Linked DNA regions of Homo sapiens: all the other regions are linked to region 5. The links are contacts of gene promoters, found by promoter capture Hi-C in blood cells and fetal thymus (Javierre and others, 2016). All regions are on one chromosome and are shown on one strand. The core of a region is centred on a gene start or on the middle of the fragment in contact, and the rest is flanking DNA. Distances in the headings are between cores, read along the strand shown.

Region 1 (2,700 bases), core at 66-2,565, 1.5 Mb before region 5:
ATCGAGCGGCCTGCAGATGTCGAAGAGGGTTTCTCTATCCAGGCCCCTCTGGTGTATCATTTTGGTTCCACCACTCCTGGCACTAACATCAAGCTTTATAATAAGGTCAGAGCCAGAGAAAGGTGGGGTGGAGGGAAGGGCTGCTATCAGGGTAGGAAACTGGAGAAGTTTACTAGTTAACACTGCATTTTCTCAGCTGGTATTTCTGCTGCATTACTTTAGAAAGGCAATTCCAAATATGTCAGTCTCAGATTGTTAAACATTTCTGTGGATCTATTCTTAGTAATTTGTTAGATTTTCACTTAGGGCATAAAACAGGAGGCAGAAGCAGCAACATAAAAATTAAATCCATGTTATGGTATCAAAACTACAGCCATTAAAAATGTCATTTTTTCAGGCTGGGTACAGTGGCTCATGCCTGTAATCCCACAACTTGGGAGGCTGAGACGGGTGGATCACCTGAGGTCAGGAGTTGGAGAGCAGCCTGGCCAACATGGTGAAACCTTGTCTCTACTAAAAATACAAAAAGTAGCTGGGCGTGGTGGCTGGTGCCTGTAATCCCAGCTGTTCAGAGACTGAGGCAGGAGAATCACTTGAACGCGGGAGGTGGAGGTTGCAGTGAGCTGAGATCGTGCCACTGCACTCCATCCTGGGCAACAGAGTGAGACTCCATTTCAAAAAAAAAATCATTTTTCTTATATCTAATAGCACTTATTCTAAAGAGGAACAAAGTAGCCATGGGTTTGTCTGGGTGTTTTTGTTCTTACCTTGATCCTCTCTTTTGCAGATTACATCTCGTTTAGCAGATGTGTTCAACCAAAGGTGTGAGGTGAACCGAAGGGCATCTGTGAGTGGCTGTGTCATTAACACCTGTGGCTGGGTCAAGGGCTCTGGTTACCAGGCTCTGGTGCATGCAGCCTCAGCTTTTGAGGTGGATGTCGTTGTTGTTCTGGATCAAGAACGACTGTACAATGAACTGAAACGGGACCTCCCCCACTTTGTACGCACTGTGCTGCTCCCTAAATCTGGGGGTGTGGTGGAGCGCTCCAAGGACTTCCGGCGGGAATGTAGGGATGAGCGTATCCGTGAGTATTTTTATGGATTCCGAGGCTGTTTCTATCCCCATGCCTTCAATGTCAAATTTTCAGATGTGAAAATCTACAAAGTTGGGGCACCCACCATCCCAGACTCCTGTTTACCTTTGGGCATGTCTCAAGAGGATAATCAGCTCAAGCTAGTACCTGTCACTCCTGGGCGAGATATGGTGCACCACCTACTGAGTGTTAGCACTGCCGAGGGTACAGAGGAGAACCTGTCCGAGACAAGTGTAGCTGGCTTCATTGTGGTGACCAGTGTGGACCTGGAGCATCAGGTGTTTACTGTTCTGTCTCCAGCCCCTCGCCCACTGCCTAAGAACTTCCTTCTCATCATGGATATCCGGTTCATGGATCTGAAGTAGAGATCAGCAGGAAGCCTTGCTGCCTGGGACATAGAGATCATCTGGCCACCCCTAGAGGCAGATGGGCTGAGATAAAAGACTGTTGGGGCCACCTGACCAGTAAACTGTGGACTAGTAGAAAGTTCATATTCTACCTCTAAAAACAGGTAGTGGTAACCTGACTCTTCTAATCTTGAACCAAAAGGAAAACCATGAGACTGTAATTGGTTTCTTAGACCACCTAAGATGCCACTTTGAATTCTCTAAGACCCTGGAGAATTGCATTTCTTTCACTGTGCTACTATGTGGTTTTTAAAAAATCAATGCTTTATATTCCATATGTGGTTCTTACCCATTTATCTAGGATGAAAGTGTGAATTAGAGGGACTCCTTCCAATAAAGTTCAAACTTAAAAAAAATCATTTTAATAAATATTTTTGCCATATCATAGAAGTTGGTATAATTTATTTTTTTCCCCTAAGCGTTATAGAAACATAATTGGAATGATTTATTGCTAAAATGCTTGGAGGAGGGGAAAACCAAGAAACCTACCTGTGAGCCACGTCAGGTTTTTTTTTTTGGTGGTGGTGGTGGTTGTTTTTGTAAGAGTCTCACACTGTCACCTGGGCTGGAGTGCAGTGGCGTGATCTTGGCTCACTGCAACCTCTGCCTCCCAGGTTCAAGTGATTCTCCTGCCTCAGCCTCCCAAATAGCTGGGGTTACAGGTGCCCGCCACCACGCCCAGCTAATTTTTTGTATTTCTTTTAGTAGGGACAGGGTTTCACTATGTTGGCCAGGCTGGTCTCAAACTCCTGACCTCATGATCTGCCTGCCTCGGCCTCCCAAAATGCTGGGATTACAGGTGTGAGACACTGTGCCCGGCTGTGAGTTCTTATGATAGTTCACCTTTCCTCTGCGCTTAGGTAAGTAGATGGTAAATCTGCTGTCAGTGCTGGATTTACTGTGGGGAGTTAGAGGCTGGTGATAATCTTGGAATGAGATTTCATATCTAATCATTTTCCAGAGATAGCTCATTTTCCTTCCAGTACAGCTATCCTTGTCTATTTGATTGGAACTAGGCCCTAAGTCAAAGTGTAACTTAAGCTTTCAGGTGGTAAGAAACTGGGAAAGCCCATTCTTTTTGATCTCTTGCAAATGACTGTTTGGTGTCCCTGGTTTGCACTTGGATTACTTAAGTATCTGATGCCATTCATCCATTCCTTCTTTTCATAAATGTTTACTGAGGACTGACTGTTTGTCAG
Region 2 (2,728 bases), core at 96-2,595, 1.4 Mb before region 5:
TCACTTGAGGCCAGGAGTTTGAGACCAGCCTGGCCATCATGGCAAAACCTCATCTCTACTAAAAATACAAAAGTTAGCTGGGCGTAGTGGCGCATGCCTGTAATCTCAGCTACTTGAGAAAGCTAAGGCATGAGAATCACTTGAACCCAGGAGGTGGAGGTTGCAGGTAGCTGTGATTGTGCCACCACACTCCTGCCTGGGCAAGAGAGTGAGACTCTCAAAAAGAAAACATAATAGTATCATCTAACACATATTGTGGTTAGTATATTAAAAGCACTATTCTAAGTGCTTACCCACATTAACTCTTAATCTTCACAACCATCCCATTGGAATATTATCCATGTTATATAGAATGTATCTGCTTATAAAACTTTACAATTAGATTCATTATTTAAGAGAAAGAAGCAAAGTCACAATTTCACTCTTGAAAACAGTAGTAATTGTCCTAGAAACAAACAGCCCTTTACCAAATAGTTTACAGTGGTCATAGGCAGTAATATTTTGCTGATTTTGTCCTTTACCCTCTGGCTCTGAACTCATTTTATCTTATTCTATGGTGAGTTTTCAGTTGAATTCCGACCACTCTCTTACCTTCTGCCTGCAGAAGGACATCACAGAACACATCACTCTGCTGCTGGTGATGAAGCTGCAGAAAAGCTAACCTGAGGAACCGGGGGTTCCTGTATAGGATTTTGGGACTGGCAGGAGAGCACATGTTGGCAAGAGTCTTAACAAACCTTCTAGGTTTTCACAGATCAGACTCCTGTAGGTGAGATAATACATTTCAGAGGCATGGTTACATCTAATTTGTTTTTTGTCTTTGAAATGGCAGGGGAATTTTGAAAGTGAGAGATAATAGTATGAGTTGAGGAAACATCAGCCCAGAAATTGTGCCAAGGATATCTCAAGAAAGAAAATTATCATAGTGGTTACATGTGGGAGCTCAGAGATAAGCCTAGGTTTGGGTCTTGGCTCTATTTATTAGCCTGGCTGTATAATCTCACACAGGTGACCTAACTTCTCTGAGTCTCACTTTCCTATCCATGAAATAGAATAATAGTACTTACCTTGTAGGGTTGTTTTAAAGATTAAATGAGTCAGTGAAGGTAAAGTTGCTTAGCACAGTGAGTGCCTGGCACAAAATAACTACCAAGCCCCAAATGGTAACTATTATTATCCTTCAACCTTCCTCATTTCCATTACCACTGAGACTCAACTGCTACAATGCTGACTACTTATATTCTTCCTGAGCACCACATCCCAGCTCCACAGGTATAATCTTCAAGTTAACACTTTTAAGGAAACATTACTGGGTATAAAATTATCTCTAGTAAGTCGTATGCGCCTTTTCTCTGAGCTCACTGTATCACACTAACCAGCAGAGGGTGCACAATAAAGAAGAGAAGCCTCTGACTCTGCGGGAAGGTCTCTCACAGAACCAAGGACGTTGCCACCCTTGGCTGGGTGTACTTGACCAAAGCGAGCCTGACTGACCCTGGTAGTAGGCAAAGAATTTGGCCTTTACGTTTGTATAGTTAATTACCAGGCTAACAATGCAGCAAGGATAGTAAAGCATTTTACCCCTCCCAAAACAAACTGAGTATTCTGACTTCAGGCTTATGTCCAGCTTTTTAGCTCCGAAACCCCCCCACTCACTGCACAGCTGTGTTCCTTTCCTGGAATGCAGTTTTCTATCAGGTAGCACTGAGGGTCCGAACAGTTCACGTCAAAACTATCAGGAAAGAAGAATGAAAAGGTAAATTAAGAGAAGGCGGGCTTGGCTGGGCGGGGTGGCTCACGCCTGTAATCCCAGCACTTTGGGAGGCCGAGGCGGGTGGATCACCTGAGGTTAGGAGTTTGAGACCAGCCTGGCCAACATGGTGACTCCCCGTCTCTACAAAAATACGAAAATTAGCCGGGCATGGTGGCAGGCGCCTGTAATCTCAGCTACTCAGGAGGCTGAGGTGGGAGAATCGCTTGAACCTGGGAGGCAGAGGTTGTAGATAGAGCCACTGCACTCCAGCCTGGGCGACAGAGCGAGACTCCGTCTCAAAAAAAAAAAAAAAATTCCCATCCCAGTGAGAGAGATGTGGATGGAGGATGGCAGCTGTTGCAAGGGCCCTGGGGAAGCTTCTCAATCCACGATCGCCTGGCCTTGCCTCCAGACCCAACTTGAAATAGCTTTTCGGTAGACTTTGCTCCTGTTGCCTTCTCTGTGCTTGTCCTCTGTCCAGCCTGCCTTGCTTCCTCTCAATGTTCAGCGTTGAGTCAGGAGGCTGAGCAAAGATGCGCAGGTGGGCCAACGGCTGAGTGCTTCACCTCCCCATCCAGAAGCAAGGGAATCGGTGTTGGCGGAGAAAGCAGGGCTTCAGGGAGAGCCCTGCAAAGCGGGGTGGCCCGCACGCTTGGGCGCCCTGGCCCAACTCCTTTGAAGAAAGACTCCTAGGCGCGAGGGTTTCTGGGAATGGACCGTGGGGATCCGGGAGGCCCAAAGTCAGGACTTCCCGTCACGGCCACCTCCGCCAGCATAGACTTTGCAGGCAGCCCCTGGCGCCCTTGTATCCCTGCGGGCTTCAGCACCCACATGCACTGGGTGGTAGTGATAGCGAGGGTTGTAAGGCCACGCGGCCAGCGCCACACACCTCGTGCCACCGTCCTAGCGCGCTGCGCGTCGCAGAGCCCTACGCCCCTCCTCCTCCCGAGTCCTCGGGCCTACGTCGTCCGGCAT
Region 3 (2,700 bases), core at 141-2,640, 1.5 Mb before region 5:
CGTGTCTTTCTGAGGTGGCCTCACTGTCATTTTCCAGTGGGGGGCGTGGTGGGGTAGGGATGGGGGGCTCCGCTGGGCACGGCCGAGCTGGGCCATCTGTCTCCACCTGGGTTGTGTGCGAGGGCGTGGAGTGTTCCGAGGGGGACCGGGGGCCGAAGGGCTGGAGCAGGGCAGGGAGTTCTGCACCTCCAGAAGTTGTAGGGTGAGCCAGGGGCGGTGTGGGGGTGTGAGGCTGGTTTTCGAGCTGATAGTTGTGGGGTGTTGAGGGGTGCGGGGATGTGTGTGTGTGGGGGGCGTGCGCTCACACTCCAGTTCTTGTTGTTTGGGTGTGTAATGAGGGCTGAGTTGTGCAGCAAGTATGGCTGAGAGTTTGTGTGTGTGTGTGTGTGTGTGTGTGGTGTGTACGTGCGCCTGTGTGGTCCAGCCTCGAGGTGTGTGTGTTCGGGGGGAGCACAGTTGGGTGTTGAAGGAGAGCGCCCCTCACCCCCCACTTCCCAGCTGCCTCTCTCATCCCATTCACAGAACATGGCTTTCAGGACCCTCCTGGTCTCCTCCTCCCGTCGCCATGGCTGCGAGGAGGGGGTGGGAGGAGACAGTTGGGGCCAGCCCCCTGCCCCTGCTGCTCCAGCTAACCCCCCACCTGCCCTTTCTCTCCCTTTCACAGGCTGGGCCCCATCCCCTGCTGCTCTGGGGGCAGGGGCCGGAAGATGGTGGCCAATGAGGAGGGGGAGAGGAGAGAACTTGAGCCGGGGCCTCCCCTCCCCCATTTCCTCCTCGGTCTCTACACTCGCTTCTGGAAGGAGCTGGGGGCTGGCTCCTGGGCCCAAGGTGGGGGAGGGGTCCTGCTGGCTGGTGAGTCGCTGGGCCTGCTCCTCAGGAATGAGTTGGGTGTGTGAGAGCTGAGGGGCTCTTGGCCCTTTCTCCCTGCACTCCCTAAGGAGAGACCTGGAAACTTCTTGGGGAAGAATCTTCCCCTGGCCTCCCTGAAGCTTGCTGTGCAGCCTTATCTTTGCCCCTCTGCCCCCTGTTGGTGTGATCCAGTTCCCAGCTGGGCCTGGTTTGCCCAACCCCAGAGCAGAGAGGTCACTGACCCTCGAGGGGTCTTGGTTTCCGCCCATTAAAACTGTAGGGCAGGGCCCCATGTTTGCAGATTACGGGAACAAACTCTGCCGGGGAGAGCGGGAGGGAACGTCTCCTGCTTCCTGAGGGGGTGGGACGAGGCTAGAGGGAAGCCCAGAGGAAGAGCTCCCAACTGGAATTCTGTCCTCTATTCCTTACGGTGGCTGTGGATTAGGGAAGAAGGCATCTCCCCTTCGTTGATCGGGGCACTGGAGGAATCACCCTCCAGCCTCTGTTTCTCTGGGCTGCCCAAAGTTCACTGGGTCAGAACTGGAGCTGGGCTCCGGGGCTGTGGCCCTAGCTGGAATGTGCCACAATAGAGCCTGCCTGGGTCTGAGCCTCCAGATATCCAGGTGTCCTTCCAGGGCAGCTTTCTGGCTTTGGGTGTTAATCTTCCGGGGACTGTTTGTCCTGTATTTAAGCCCCCTTAGGGTTGGATAGGATGGGGAAGTGCTAGGATGAGCTTGAAGACTCCCCAACCAAGGGTCCCTGGATAAGACAGGAAATAACTCAGATGTGAATCCCACTGCCAGTGAAAGCCTATCCCTAACTCTCAGTAACTGTGAGCGAATCACCCTCACCATTTTAATGCTGAATCTGCAAAGTGCTTTCAGGACCTCCAAAAGGAGATGCAGGGGTGGGGCTTCACCAGCAGCTTTCACCTCCCCGCCTGGAAGCTTCTCTCTACTGCGTGGGGAGCTGTGACTACAGGCTCCCACCTCTCTGGTCCTGGAAGGTCATCTGAGAGTGTTGCCTTGAGGCCTAGAGCTCTGCTTTATCTAAATTTAAAAGGAGATGGAAACTTAGAGAAGAGTAGAGGGTTCTGTAGTCTTGGGCAGCAAGCTCCTCTCTAGAAGGTAAGCTAGCGGAAATGCAAATCCAGATGAACACAGCCTCATACGAGTGACCTCCAGACTTTGGGGATTGCTAATAGCCGTTTTCTTTGAGGACTGAGCATCAAGCCCGAAGTATCCCTGCAGCTGCTTTAGTGGGTCCTGTCCTCCCATGCCAAAACCTCCAAGAAAAAGGTGGTCTCTGTGCTGGGGGTCAGGGGGTTGGTGAAGAAGGCGGCAAAAGGAAGAGTGGTGAAAAAATAGAATGAACACTAAGAATGGAATAAAAGGGAAAAAAGCTGTATTGAAGCAAAGAAGGGGCAGAGGGAGCCCGTGAGCTGAGTGGGCCAGGGACTGGGAGAAGGAGTGAGGAGGCAGGGCCGGCATGCCTCTGCTGCTGGCCAGAGCTCTTTTCACATTGTGCTACTGTCTGCACCTGTCACTAGCAGTGCAATGTTAAAAGGGCATTGGCCGTGTAGTGCTACCCAGCGCTGGCTGCCTCCTCAGCATTGCAATTCCTCTCCCATCTGGGCACCAGTCAGCTACCCTGGTGGGAATCTGGGTAGCCTCACTTGTTAGTTATACTAATAGCTCTCATTTATGGAACTACTTCTGTATGCAGTGCTTGTGATAGACACTGCCTCCGTTACTGTGAAACCTAATAACTTCTGGGAGGTAACAGCCCCATTTTATGGATGAAAAACTGAGGGTCAGAAAGGTTTAAACAGTTTGGCTAAGATTGTGTAGC
Region 4 (2,756 bases), core at 228-2,727, 1.3 Mb before region 5:
GAGAGATAAGATGAGCACACTGAAACTCCAGTTAATCCTCCTTTGCAGATGAGGGTAATGGGAATGTCCAGGAAGCTAGCCATAATGACTTGATGTATTCTCTTGGTTCTTCCAAAACTTCTCAGGAGCTATGAAGACATGATTGGTGAGGAGGTGCCATCGGATCAATACTACTGGGCTCCTTTGGCCCAGCATGAGCGAGGAAGTTTAGCAAGCTTGGATAGCCTGCGCAAAGGAGGGCCTCCACCTCCTAATTGGAGACAGCCAGAGCTGCCAGAGGTGATCGCCATGCTTGGATTCCGCTTGGATGCTGTCAAGTCCAATGCAGCTGCATACCTGCAACACTTATGCTACCGCAATGACAAGGTGAAGACTGACGTGCGGAAGCTCAAGGGCATCCCAGTACTGGTGGGATTGTTAGACCATCCCAAAAAGGAAGTGCACCTTGGAGCCTGTGGAGCTCTCAAGAATATCTCTTTTGGACGTGACCAGGATAACAAGATTGCCATAAAAAACTGTGATGGTGTGCCTGCCCTTGTGCGATTGCTTCGAAAGGCTCGTGATATGGACCTTACTGAAGTTATTACCGGTGAGTTCTAGGCCTAAGGAAAATTGCTAAGTCAGTGTTACTCTCTAGTGATGTTGAGAACTAGAGGGATTTCCAGACCTTTTACTTTTGATGAAAGGTTGTGAACTGGTGGCTGTGGGTCAAATCCATCTCACAGATTTGTTTGGATCACACAGCATTATTGAAATTTTAAAGAACTGGTTGCTGATGTTTAAAATTCAGAAGATTTCACTTAAAATTCCAGATTCTTGGCTTCTATTAAAAACGTGGAAGAGTTGTTAACAATGGATCTCTTTTCTTCCTTAGCAGTATTTGGTCTGAACTGATTGGAGCATGTGCTCTCTAATTTACACTAATCTCCAACACATTCTATTATCTGACCAACTACAGCTGTTTAGGAAGTTGTTTCCCAAACATGGAGCTGTCAACTGCTATTTTTTCACATGCTTGTAATTTCTTTTAATTATCTTCCTCTCTTGACTCACCGGCTTGACCCATATAGACATTTAAGCTTGTGGTTCTTGCTTTATTTAGAGCAGTAGTTTTTCAGATTGTGGGTTGTGATCTATTTGTGTGATCCGTTAGTGAATAAAACAAAATTTTGTGGAGCATAATCAGCATTCCAAGGGAAAGGAATAAAGAAAAAGTAGTATAGACCATTGTTTCTCAGTTGTGGGCCATTTTGCCTGCCCTGCCCTGAGGACATTTGGACATTTGCAGTGTTGGAGATATTTTTGGTTGTTATAACTTGGAACAGGGGAGAGGGAGTGCTACTGGCATCTAGTGAGTAAAGGCCAGGGGTACTGGTAAACATCCAACAATAGACAAGACAGCTCCTCATAACAAAGAATCATCTGGCCGAAAATGTCAGTGGTGCTGAGGTTGAAAAACTCTGGTATAGACAGATCGGAGAGCATTGAGCATTGCTTATAGTTTTGTTTGTTTTTTTTGAGATGGAGTCTCGCTCTGTCACCCAGGCTGGAGTGCAGTGGCACAATCTCAGCTCACCGCAAGCTCCGCCTCATGGGTTCACGCCATTCTCCTGCCTCAGCCTCCCAAGTAGCTGGGACTACAGGTGCCCGCCACCACGCCCGGCTAATTTTTTGTATTTTTAGTGTTAGCCAGGATGGTCTTGATCTCCCAACCTTGTGATCCGCCCGCCTTGGCCTCCCAAATTGCTGGGATTACAGGCGTGAGCCACCACACCCAGCCTGAGCGTTGCTTATAGTTAAACATTGTTTGTTTCATGATCTGTATGTTTATTTTGAGCTATAATGTAGAATATGTTTCTTGGTGAGGGTCGCAAACAAAGCTTGAATATTACTATAAGGTATTTGGTCACTGGGGAAGACTGAGAAGTGATACGATAGGGGGATTCTCTTTGACGTTCTTCAGACATATTGTCTTGAATGCTCAAGAGCCATCTGATGAATTGTCTCTTCCAGGAACCCTGTGGAATCTTTCATCCCATGACTCAATCAAAATGGAGATTGTGGACCATGCACTGCATGCCTTGACAGATGAAGTGATCATTCCTCATTCTGGTTGGGAGCGGGAACCTAATGAAGACTGTAAGCCACGCCACATTGAGTGGGAATCGGTGCTCACCAACACAGCTGGCTGCCTTAGGTAACAGTAGGGACTTTGAGAATATGAAGATGAATTTTTGAGGACTGACTTAAATTTCCTAAAAAAAAAAAAAAATTAAAATTCTTTAGCCTATTCTTTAGCCTCCATTCCTATCTGTATTGCATACTGTAACTCCAACCTTTCTATCTTTGTTGCTATTCTCTCATGTATACCACATGTACCTATATCAGTTTTCTTGCTGTTCCCCACACATCCTCTTCACTTTTATGCCTCTTTGACTTTGTTCATCTACTTTGGTAAGCTTTTGTTCAGCATCTACCACATGTAAGGTGGTCTAGTCCTGGACTTGTGTGTGTCTATGTCCTTGCCCTAGTTATTTGTATTTCAAGTCAGGCTGTGATAAATTCAGCAAAAGGGGTACAGAGTACTAGGAGGTTAGGGCATGGGTGAGGAAGGTCTGTTCTTTCTGTGATGCCTTTCTCTTCTTATTTATCTTTTTGTGGTTAAACTCAAGTGCCTTTATTTTATTAAAGTTTTCCTGAATTCTTTTTATATCCTATAAATGCTGCTATATAATCTTTCTCTCTTTGGAATACAC
Region 5 (2,768 bases), core at 16-2,515:
GGAAACAAATTTTATCAGTATATTCAATTCTGAACACCCATGTTTTAGAAAATGTTAAGCCTATTGTCCTTTAATCACTATTTGCTTACACATTAAAATGTAAAACAGGCAAAAGAGAAAGAAGGAAGAAAGGAGGGAGGGAGGGAAGGAGAAAAGTGAGAAAGAAAGAAAGATAAAAGAAAAAAGAAAGAAGAAAGAAAGAAAGAGAAGAAATAAAGAGAAAAAAGAAAGGAAGAAAGGAAGGAAGGAATGAAGAAGAAAAGAAAAAAGAGAAAGAAAGAAGGAAAGAAAAAGAAAAAAAGAAAGAGAAAGAAAGAAAGAAAGAGAAAGAAAGAAAGAGAGAGAGAGAGAGAAAGAGAGAGAAAAGAAAATTTTCTCCAGATTAGAATTATTGGCTGCTATTGTTTGGATGCTGGGTACTAGCTGTGATTACCCTTTGTGAATGTAGGAATGCACAGATTCCAAAAGTGAGTCTCATAGAAAAAGTCAGCATTCAAATATGTTTTAAGGTTACTCTATCCAAACCCCAAAGAACCCACAGAAGATGAAGCAGTAATTTTAGCTTCTCTTGGTGTATTGTACATGCATTTAAGGCCAGTTCCTTCCTTCAAATTCCCATGTGTTTTGTAGTTACCAACACACCTTTCAACCCTATCTGTTTATATACATCATATAGTCCTCTGTCAATTGCATAAAAGTTGTCCCCTTTGTGACTGTAATCGCCTTTTCCAATACACATCTACTCAGAATGCAGGTCCTTAAACAGCAGGCTGCCTTGAAAACCCTCTCCAATCTTCTTCGATCATCAGCTTTGAGATGCATATTCCTAGAGCCCATATCATCTTCTTCATCACTATCATAAACGTCTCCACATATTGATGAACGTTTGGAGAATCGATTTATGACAAGGGAGTTTACTCTTCCTGCATCCGCGGCTTCTTCGTGATTTTGTCCTAGTCACCGGGCCTATCCCACCTGCTGGGGATGCCGCCCCCTCGGAAGTGCCTGAAATCTCCCCACTTACCCAACTAGCCTCAGCGCCTCCTGTGTGCTGCAGCAGATGGCGCGCTGCAGACCCCAGCCTGGTGCCTCCGCGACTCCTCCCCAACCATGATTTACAGGCGGGGACAGCCACATTCCTGCGCCCCAACTTCCACCTCCGCTTCCTGCGCGCGCGAGACTCAAGCTGCCACAGTGGCTCTGCCGCCAGCGTCCCAGCTCCTCCCACACCCGAGTTTTTATTTCCTGCTCCCTCTCCAGCCCGGCCCAGGCCAGCCTACCGGCGACTAGGATGCTTTCGCTTTCGCTCTCGCTTTCCAATACTCGGGACTGGGGAAACCGGGAGAATAGAAGCAGGCAAGGACCGCCGTGGGCACGGGGTCAGTGAGACAGGGTCCTGCTCGCGGCGTCAAGGAGGAGCGCTGTGGGTGGGTAGGGTAGGCGCGCCCCCTCGGCCTTGCCTTTCCAACCACTCTTTTTTGCACGCCAACAGGTGTCCCCAGCGCAGCCAATCGGCTTCCGAAGTAGGTGAGTTGCTGCCTGAAGAGAAAAGACAAACTCCAGTATCTTTCATTCCATTGGCCAGACGCGCCATTCCCCAAGTGAGTTCTGTTCTCCAACCAAAGTGCTGGATTCCAAGGGACTGGAAGGGAAAGTCCCTAAAAATCACGAGTTCAGGCGTCTGAGACTTGGTGGGAACGGACCTTCCTCTTAGGTGAGTTACTCTTTGGTTCTGGGGCTGACCTGGAGTTTTGCCAGGATTCATTGGCCGCAGCAGGATGCTGGTGGGGACAGGGTAAATAAAATCTGCACTCCTGCGGGCTTTTATTGTTGAAAGGGGCACTGACGCTCTCCCTGGAAACTTAAAAAGAACAGCCAAGTGAACGGATGTGTCTTTCTTTTGCAGTGCCCAAGCCTGTTCTAATTTTTAAAAACTGATGTCTATTAAGACCCAATGTTAACTTTATGAAAATGGTTCCTAAGGAGATTCACATCTCTGTGTCCGAATTCTGTGTGCAGCAAACATCATCTCAAGTGCGTTTTCCCAACTACGCTTCTTTCCAGGATAAAATACTCTAAGTGACAAATGTTGAGTACATTATCAGGTATGTTCACTATTGTGAGAACTGAAGCCATCTACACTCACATAGCTTGCCAACTACATTAACCTGACTTCTTATTCCATTATTTTCATCAACATACATTTACTATTTCAAGAAACTTTTGCCAGGGACCGGAAAGTTGCAAATATCTTTATTGCTTAATCCAGTATCTTCTTCAAAGATCCAACCACTCTTCAATGGAAAACATCAAAGAACAGTTTACATTCTAAGACTTTGAACCTTTACCTCAAAATCCTAGCCTTGTTTTATCTACCAATCCTAAACTTTTACCCGTAGCTGACTCAATTCTAACCAATTCCCCTCATTAAATATTAGACTTACAATGGGACTTCAAAATCTCAATACATATAGCCCAAACTTGCTCTTCCCTCTCTGAGACACCACTTAAATTCTGTCAAGTTATTGTTCTCCATTACCTAAGTGAGCAAGAAACTTAGCTTTGTCTTATCAACAGGTTGCTTTGATATTACTGGGAGCCAACATTTGACATTCTTGGAGGCTCCAGCAAGACCTAATCAACCTCCCAACCCTCAACTCAGAATCAGTGTGTGCCCTGAAGTCCCTTCAACCTTCTTGAGGCTCTCCCTGATCTCAAAGGTGGAGAAAGTAGATCTTGCATCAGGTTGAACTCCAGTTTCTTTTTGC
Region 6 (2,700 bases), core at 82-2,581, 1.4 Mb before region 5:
TGGGTCTCGCCATGTTGCCCATGCTGGTCTCAAACTCCTGGGCTCAAGGGATTCTGCCTCGGCCTCCCAAAGCGCTGGGATTACAGGCGTGAGCAACGCGCCTGGCCACCTTCAATTTTTATCATGTTTTCTTTTCCTAGCATTAACCACTTTCTGACATTATCTTGTTTACAATGCCTCCTCCACTGAAATGTACATCCCAAAAAAGGCAAGCATCTTGTCAGTCTTGTTCACAACTGTCTCCAGCATTTAGAAAAGTGCTTGGTACATAGGTACTCAACAAAATAATTTTTTGAATGAAGAGTTTGGTTCGATTCTTATCCCTTTTTTGATCAGACCAGGAAATGCCGGAACCTTAGAAGGAAGAATGGCAACTTGCCCCAAACCAATAGCAAGTCTGTGGGAGACCTGTAACTAAAACTTTGGGTCCCCAAAGATATTAAATCAGGCCTCTCGAGTTCCAAACTCAAACCCTGGATTTTGTTTGTTTTGAGACGGAGTCTCGTTCGCCCAGGCTGGAGTGCAGTGGAGCAATGTCGGCTCTCTGCAACCTCCGCCTCCCGGGGTTCAAACGATTCTCCCGCCTCAGCCTCCCGAGTAGCTGGAATTAAAGGTATACGCCACCACGCCCAGGTAATTTTTGTGTTTTTTGTGGAGACAGGGTTTCATCATGTTGGCCAGGCCGGTCTCGAACTCCTGACCTTAGGTGATTCGCCCGCCTCCGCCTCCCAGAGTGTTGGGATTACAGGCGTGAGCCACCGCGCCCAGCCCTAGGTCATTTTTTAGAGAGACATAAACCAGTGTCAGGGACACAGCCTGGACATGGTGCAAAAGACAGTAACGGAGATGCACTACGCCCCTGCCCGCCATTCATCCCTTTGGTTGAATTCAACTCATCCTGGTTGAATTCAAGTCATCCCTCTGCTTGTGAATCCTAACAGCGCTTCCGACTTAGGGCTCCACAGTCCGGGTATGCGTTGCCTAGGTTACCTCGCACCTCCGCTAGCCGGCTGAGAGCCACGCCCATCACCTCCTCTCTAAGATTTGATTGGCTGGCTTTGGCAAGGCCGAGTACTCACCTGGCAGTTCCCTCATGAGGTAAAAAGGGCCACAGCCAGCTCCTGACTTGTCCGCGCCAGGAGGAGCCGTGGCCGCGGTGGGAGGCGGGGCCGTGCCGGGTCCCCCGCCCGCAGGAGGCGGTGGCGGGGGTGGAGGCTTTCCTGGTCCGAAGCCGAGTGCGGTTGGGGGCGGTGGTGGGTCAGCCTGAGCCCCAAACAGTGCCGTGAAATTCTCCATCGTACCCTCCGCCCCGGCGCTGTCTCCGTGTCTGCCGTTGGTAATTTTCATTGGACAATGCTTTCAAGGAGTACCCCCCCGCCCTTTCTCAAGGAGCCGCTTGTCATTGGATGCCTCAGGCACCGCCTACCTTTTTTCAACAACTACTTCCGTCGCCTTATGAGAACGTTCAGGAAGTGCTATTTAACCTTATTAGAGTCTTCTGCTAGCTCTGCTTGCTACAGTCCAATAAAATGACTTAGGCGGATAAAGCGACAACTAGACTAACCAATAAAATATTAAGTTCTTTTTTGGGTTCTGACCTACCACAGCGTTCAGAGAACTACATCCGGGTTTAGAGGCCGTACGTTTGCGATATAGCCCAATAGCAGTCGTTATGGTGGGGGAGGCGGGGCGAGACCTACGACGCCGGCGAGCAGTGGCCGTTACGGCCGAAAAGATGGCGGTCTTGGCACCTCTAATTGCTCTCGTGTATTCGGTGCCGCGACTTTCACGATGGCTCGCCCAACCTTACTACCTTCTGTCGGCCCTGCTCTCTGCTGCCTTCCTACTCGTGAGGAAACTGCCGCCGCTCTGCCACGGTCTGCCCACCCAACGCGAAGACGGTAACCCGTGTGACTTTGACTGGGTGAGCCTCCCGCGTGTTAGTACCCCGCGACCTTGACTGTCCCTGCCCTTGCAGGTGTATCTGGGAACCCTGGGGTTTACCTCTCTGAGGACACCTGAGGTTCCGAGCCTGTAGCGGACTTAGAGACTATTAAGTGCAGGGTCCGAACCATCATCGAGTCTAAACTTTGTGTTTAAGATGGGAAAACGGAACATGTTAGTCGTAGCCCATGCACAACGGCCCAACAGCTTTTGACTGTTGAGTCCAGGTTTCTTTCTGTTTCACCATTGAGACTAATTAACAGCCCTATCAAAACTGTACATACACGTGTATAACGTTTTACAGTGCCGCTCATTATGTAAAGCCTCCTGAGGAGCCAGTAAGGTAGACAAGGCAAGTAGTAATATTCCTGTTTCATTGGTGAAGAAATGGATCTCGGTATATTTAGGTGACTTGCCCCAGGTCATACAACTAATGAGTGCCTGGGACTTGAAACTACTCTTCTGGCCACACTACCTGCACAACACTGTCAGCCGCTTCTTAATTCAATAAACATTTCTAGAGTGTACACTCTAGGCACTCTGCTTGATCCTGAAGATGCGAAAGTGGATAAAATTTGGGGGCTACTGTAAAGGAATTGTAAAAAATACGTTGTAAAGAAATCTTTGGGATTTCTTTGGGAAGTGTCCCAAGCTCCTTGCTGTGCTTCCTTGGTATGGGTGGAGGGACTGCTCGGAACATAAACTTAAAGCACTTTCCCTTCTGCCATATAGCATGTAGGGGCCAAGGAAAAGCTT
Region 7 (2,700 bases), core at 9-2,508, 1.6 Mb before region 5:
GACATTAAAAACTTTACAAGGGCTAGGCGGGGTGGCTCACACCTATAATCCCAACACTTTGGGAGGCCCAGGAGGGAGGATCACTTGAGCCCAGGAGTTCGAGACCAGTCTCAGCAACATAGCATGACCCAGTCTCTATAAAAAAATTTTTTTTTAATTAGCTGGATGTGTTGATGCGGGCCTGTAGTCCCAACTATTCTGGAGGCTGAGGTGGGAGGATCATTTGAGCCCAGGAGGTTGAAGCTGCAGTGAACTGTGATTGTGCCTCTGCACTCCAGCCTGGGTCACTGAGTGAGAGACCCTGTCTCAAAAAAATTAAAAAAAAAAAGTCCAGAAGAACATTTGGGTCTCACTCTGTGGCCCAGGCTGGAGTATAGTGGCACAATCATAGCTCACTGCACATTCAAACTCCTGGCCTCAAGTGATCCTCCTGCCTTAGCCTTGAAATAAGCTTGGATTACAGATGAGCCACCACACCCAGCCAGACCATTATTCATAATAGCCAAAATGTGAAAACAACCCAAATCTCCATCAACTGACAAATGGATAAATAGAATGGTGGTTGATCCATACAATGGAGTATTTACTCAGCAATAAAAAGAAGTCCTGATACATGCTACAAGGATGAACCTCAAAAACATTATGCTAAGTGAAAGCAGCCAATCACAAAAGGCTACATATTACAAGATTCCATTTAAATGAAATGTTCAGAATAGGTAAATCTAACTTTTATCACAGGCAAAGCTATGACAGGAAATAGATGAGTGGTTGCCTAGTGCTTGGGGGCAGAGGTGGGGGTGAGGCGAGTGAGTACTGCTAATGGTACAGAGTTACTTTTGGGGATAAAGAAACTGTTCTGAAATGGACTCTGGTGATGGTTGCACTACTCTGAACATACTAAAACTGTTAAATTATATACTTGAAATGGGTGACTTGTGAGGCATGGAAATTATATCTTAATAAAGCTGTTTTACATATTTTACATATTTAAAAATGCAGGTGGAGGGATGAGCCCTCTAAAGAGAAGCAGGAGTTTGAGGAGGTTCTAAATATTGTGTGGTGGGTACTGAGGCATATAAATTTGTCAGACCTCATCAAAATGTATGATGTAATCTTCAAGAAAGTTGATTTTAAAGAAACACCACCAGCACCAGGTGGAGAAGGCAGGAAGAAGTTACACAAGGGGTAGGCCAAGAGTGGTGGCTCATGTCTATAATCCCAGCACTGCGGGAGGCCGAGCCGGGTGGGTGACTTGAGGTCAGGTGTTCGAGACCAGCCTGGCCAACATGGTGAAAGCCCGTCTCTACTAAAAATACAAAAATTAGCCAGACGTGCTCGCGTGAACCCAGGGGGAGAAGGTTGCAGTGAGCGAAGATCATGCCAATGCACTCCAGCCTGGGTGACAGAGTGAGACTCTGTCTCAAAAAAAAAAAAAAAAGTTACATAGGGGACAGTGGCAGGTGTCAAGGGCAGGCAGGGTCTCTCCTATCTCCAGGATAAACTCATAGGGGACTTAGATGCCATGTGGGTCCCTAATAGCCCTCCACTTGGTTCTTGCAGCCACTCTTATGTGTATCATTTCATGTCAGGCCTCTTCTTCCCAACCCACCCAGCCATCCCAGCCTGGCTGCCAACCCCACCTCCTCCAGCCCCTGTCACCCCATAATTGGGGCCAGGAGGCATGGGAGAGTCGCCATCTCTCGGTGCCATCTGTTGCATCTTTACAGATAACCATGGCTGGATGCGGCAGATCCTGGGGTGGAGCAGCCGCTGTTCAGAGCAGTGATCAAGACCTCCCCATCTCCACCCCTCAAGGAATCGGTTTTCTTCCATAGCCACATCAGGTGCTGTGCAGGAAGGAGTTGAAACGAGAAGCCAGGAGCAACGAGAAGGACACTAACATTTATTAAGCACTGCAGACTCTCACAGCACTCCCACGGAATCGATATTATTATCCCCATTCTGAAGACCAGGCAACTGAAGCTCAATGTTTAAGGAACTCACCGAAGTCACCAACTGATAAAAGTGATGGAAGCTGGGATTCAAATCCAAGCTAAACTTCCTTCCAAGCTTACTCCACAACACAGAGGTTGGGGAAAGGGGATAAAAAGAGAGGGGAGCCCAATTCCATTTCCACCCAGCTCCTGAGGCGGAGCTTGTCAGCACAGCTCTCTCCTTCCCAGAATAGGAAGATACCCATCAGAGGCAAGTCCTAGACACCAGCAGTGGTAACTCCCTGCCCCAAGGCAGCTGCAGACAGCCTATGGCTGTAGTTACTGCTCCCAAAGAGTGTTAGAATTCCCACTCCCAGCTTCGGGGCCACTCACACAAGGTGATTGAAGTGGAAACCAGAGACTCTCCACAATGCCCTCCTAGAGTAAATGAGGCTATGTAACTTTGTCCAAATGAGTAATTTGAAAACCTGGGGGCTCCCAGCTCCTGAAAAGGGAAGGATGTGGGGCCCTTTATATTCATACTCCACTTTGTGCAGCTCTCCCTTGTCTTATGATAGCCCTATTAAGAAATTCCTCTCCCAGCACGTCTCCTTCAAAGAGCTCTAGACCTGAGGCTGTCAGAGGCTTAGGACTCTGCCTATTAGTCCCAGGGTCTGGATGACCAGCAGGACACCTGGCATTCAGTGACCACTGGATTAGATAAATGAAACAGTGGGCAGAGTGCCACCCAATCTCCCCCTGAAGT

Evidence for each region. Contacts are between HindIII fragments. The CHiCAGO score rates a contact against its expected background, and 5 or more counts as called.
Region 1: a fragment that was not itself captured here is called in contact with the fragment with the promoter of FAM111A in region 5 in 2 of 17 cell types (fetal thymus and activated CD4 T cells); the score reaches 5.6 in fetal thymus.
Region 2: the fragment with the promoter of BTBD18 here is called in contact with the fragment with the promoter of FAM111A in region 5 in 7 of 17 cell types (fetal thymus, non-activated CD4 T cells, total CD8 T cells and 4 more); the score reaches 17.5 in fetal thymus.
Region 3: a fragment that was not itself captured here is called in contact with the fragment with the promoter of FAM111A in region 5 in 1 of 17 cell types (fetal thymus); the score reaches 5.6 in fetal thymus.
Region 4: a fragment that was not itself captured here is called in contact with the fragment with the promoter of FAM111A in region 5 in 1 of 17 cell types (non-activated CD4 T cells); the score reaches 5.5 in non-activated CD4 T cells.
Region 6: the fragment with the promoter of MED19 here is called in contact with the fragment with the promoter of FAM111A in region 5 in 5 of 17 cell types (naive CD4 T cells, total CD8 T cells, fetal thymus and 2 more); the score reaches 8.7 in naive CD4 T cells.
Region 7: a fragment that was not itself captured here is called in contact with the fragment with the promoter of FAM111A in region 5 in 1 of 17 cell types (non-activated CD4 T cells); the score reaches 5.3 in non-activated CD4 T cells.

Annotation. Positions count from the first base shown.
Region 1 is chr11:57,659,978-57,662,677 of GRCh38, forward strand. CLP1 (cleavage factor polyribonucleotide kinase subunit 1) reads left to right here. Exons shown (of 3, transcript NM_006831.3): 2 at 1-105; 3 at 788-1,888. The coding sequence ends at 1,459. Among named protein-coding and RNA genes, the nearest start is that of CLP1, 3.6 kb to the left of the region's middle. The HindIII fragment of the contact is 2,449 bases long and covers 92-2,540 here.
Region 2 is chr11:57,750,474-57,753,201 of GRCh38, forward strand. It overlaps BTBD18 (BTB domain containing 18), which reads right to left and starts at 1,346. Exons shown (of 3, transcript NM_001145101.3): 1 at 1,068-1,346; 2 at 592-763. The coding sequence starts at 715. The region is part of intron 2 of TMX2-CTNND1 (TMX2-CTNND1 readthrough (NMD candidate)); the gene reads left to right. The HindIII fragment of the contact is 11,151 bases long and covers 1-2,128 here.
Region 3 is chr11:57,638,854-57,641,553 of GRCh38, forward strand. The region is part of intron 1 of MIR130AHG (MIR130A host gene); the gene reads left to right. It overlaps MIR130A (microRNA 130a), which reads left to right and starts at 2,345; the gene lies at 2,345-2,433. RefSeq lists an enhancer at 563-1,142. The HindIII fragment of the contact is 807 bases long and covers 988-1,794 here.
Region 4 is chr11:57,801,608-57,804,363 of GRCh38, forward strand. It overlaps CTNND1 (catenin delta 1), which reads left to right. Exons shown (of 21, transcript NM_001085458.2): 7 at 126-589; 8 at 2,014-2,197. TMX2-CTNND1 (TMX2-CTNND1 readthrough (NMD candidate)) reads left to right here. Exons shown (of 21, transcript NR_037646.1): 8 at 126-589; 9 at 2,014-2,197. Among named protein-coding and RNA genes, the nearest start is that of CTNND1, 41 kb to the left of the region's middle. The HindIII fragment of the contact is 801 bases long and covers 1,078-1,878 here.
Region 5 is chr11:59,141,591-59,144,358 of GRCh38, forward strand. It overlaps FAM111A (FAM111 trypsin like peptidase A), which reads left to right and starts at 1,266. Exons shown (of 6, transcript NM_001312909.2): 1 at 1,266-1,356; 2 at 1,493-1,714; 3 at 1,907-2,105. It overlaps FAM111A-DT (FAM111A divergent transcript), which reads right to left and starts at 1,218. Exons shown (of 4, transcript NR_110184.1): 1 at 1,025-1,218. It also overlaps the pseudogene LOC100422399. RefSeq lists an enhancer at 1,034-1,483. The HindIII fragment of the contact is 3,476 bases long and covers 1-2,768 here.
Region 6 is chr11:57,710,884-57,713,583 of GRCh38, forward strand. It overlaps MED19 (mediator complex subunit 19), which reads right to left and starts at 1,332. Exons shown (of 5, transcript NM_001317078.4): 1 at 1,080-1,332. The coding sequence starts at 1,296. TMX2 (thioredoxin related transmembrane protein 2) reads left to right here and starts at 1,710. Exons shown (of 8, transcript NM_015959.4): 1 at 1,710-1,924. The coding sequence starts at 1,736. TMX2-CTNND1 (TMX2-CTNND1 readthrough (NMD candidate)) reads left to right here and starts at 1,640. Exons shown (of 21, transcript NR_037646.1): 1 at 1,640-1,924. RefSeq lists a silencer at 963-1,302. The HindIII fragment of the contact is 3,048 bases long and covers 1-2,695 here.
Region 7 is chr11:57,511,122-57,513,821 of GRCh38, forward strand. All of the region lies in intron 2 of SLC43A1 (solute carrier family 43 member 1), which reads right to left. Among named protein-coding and RNA genes, the nearest start is that of SLC43A1, 3.2 kb to the right of the region's middle. The HindIII fragment of the contact is 1,619 bases long and covers 450-2,068 here.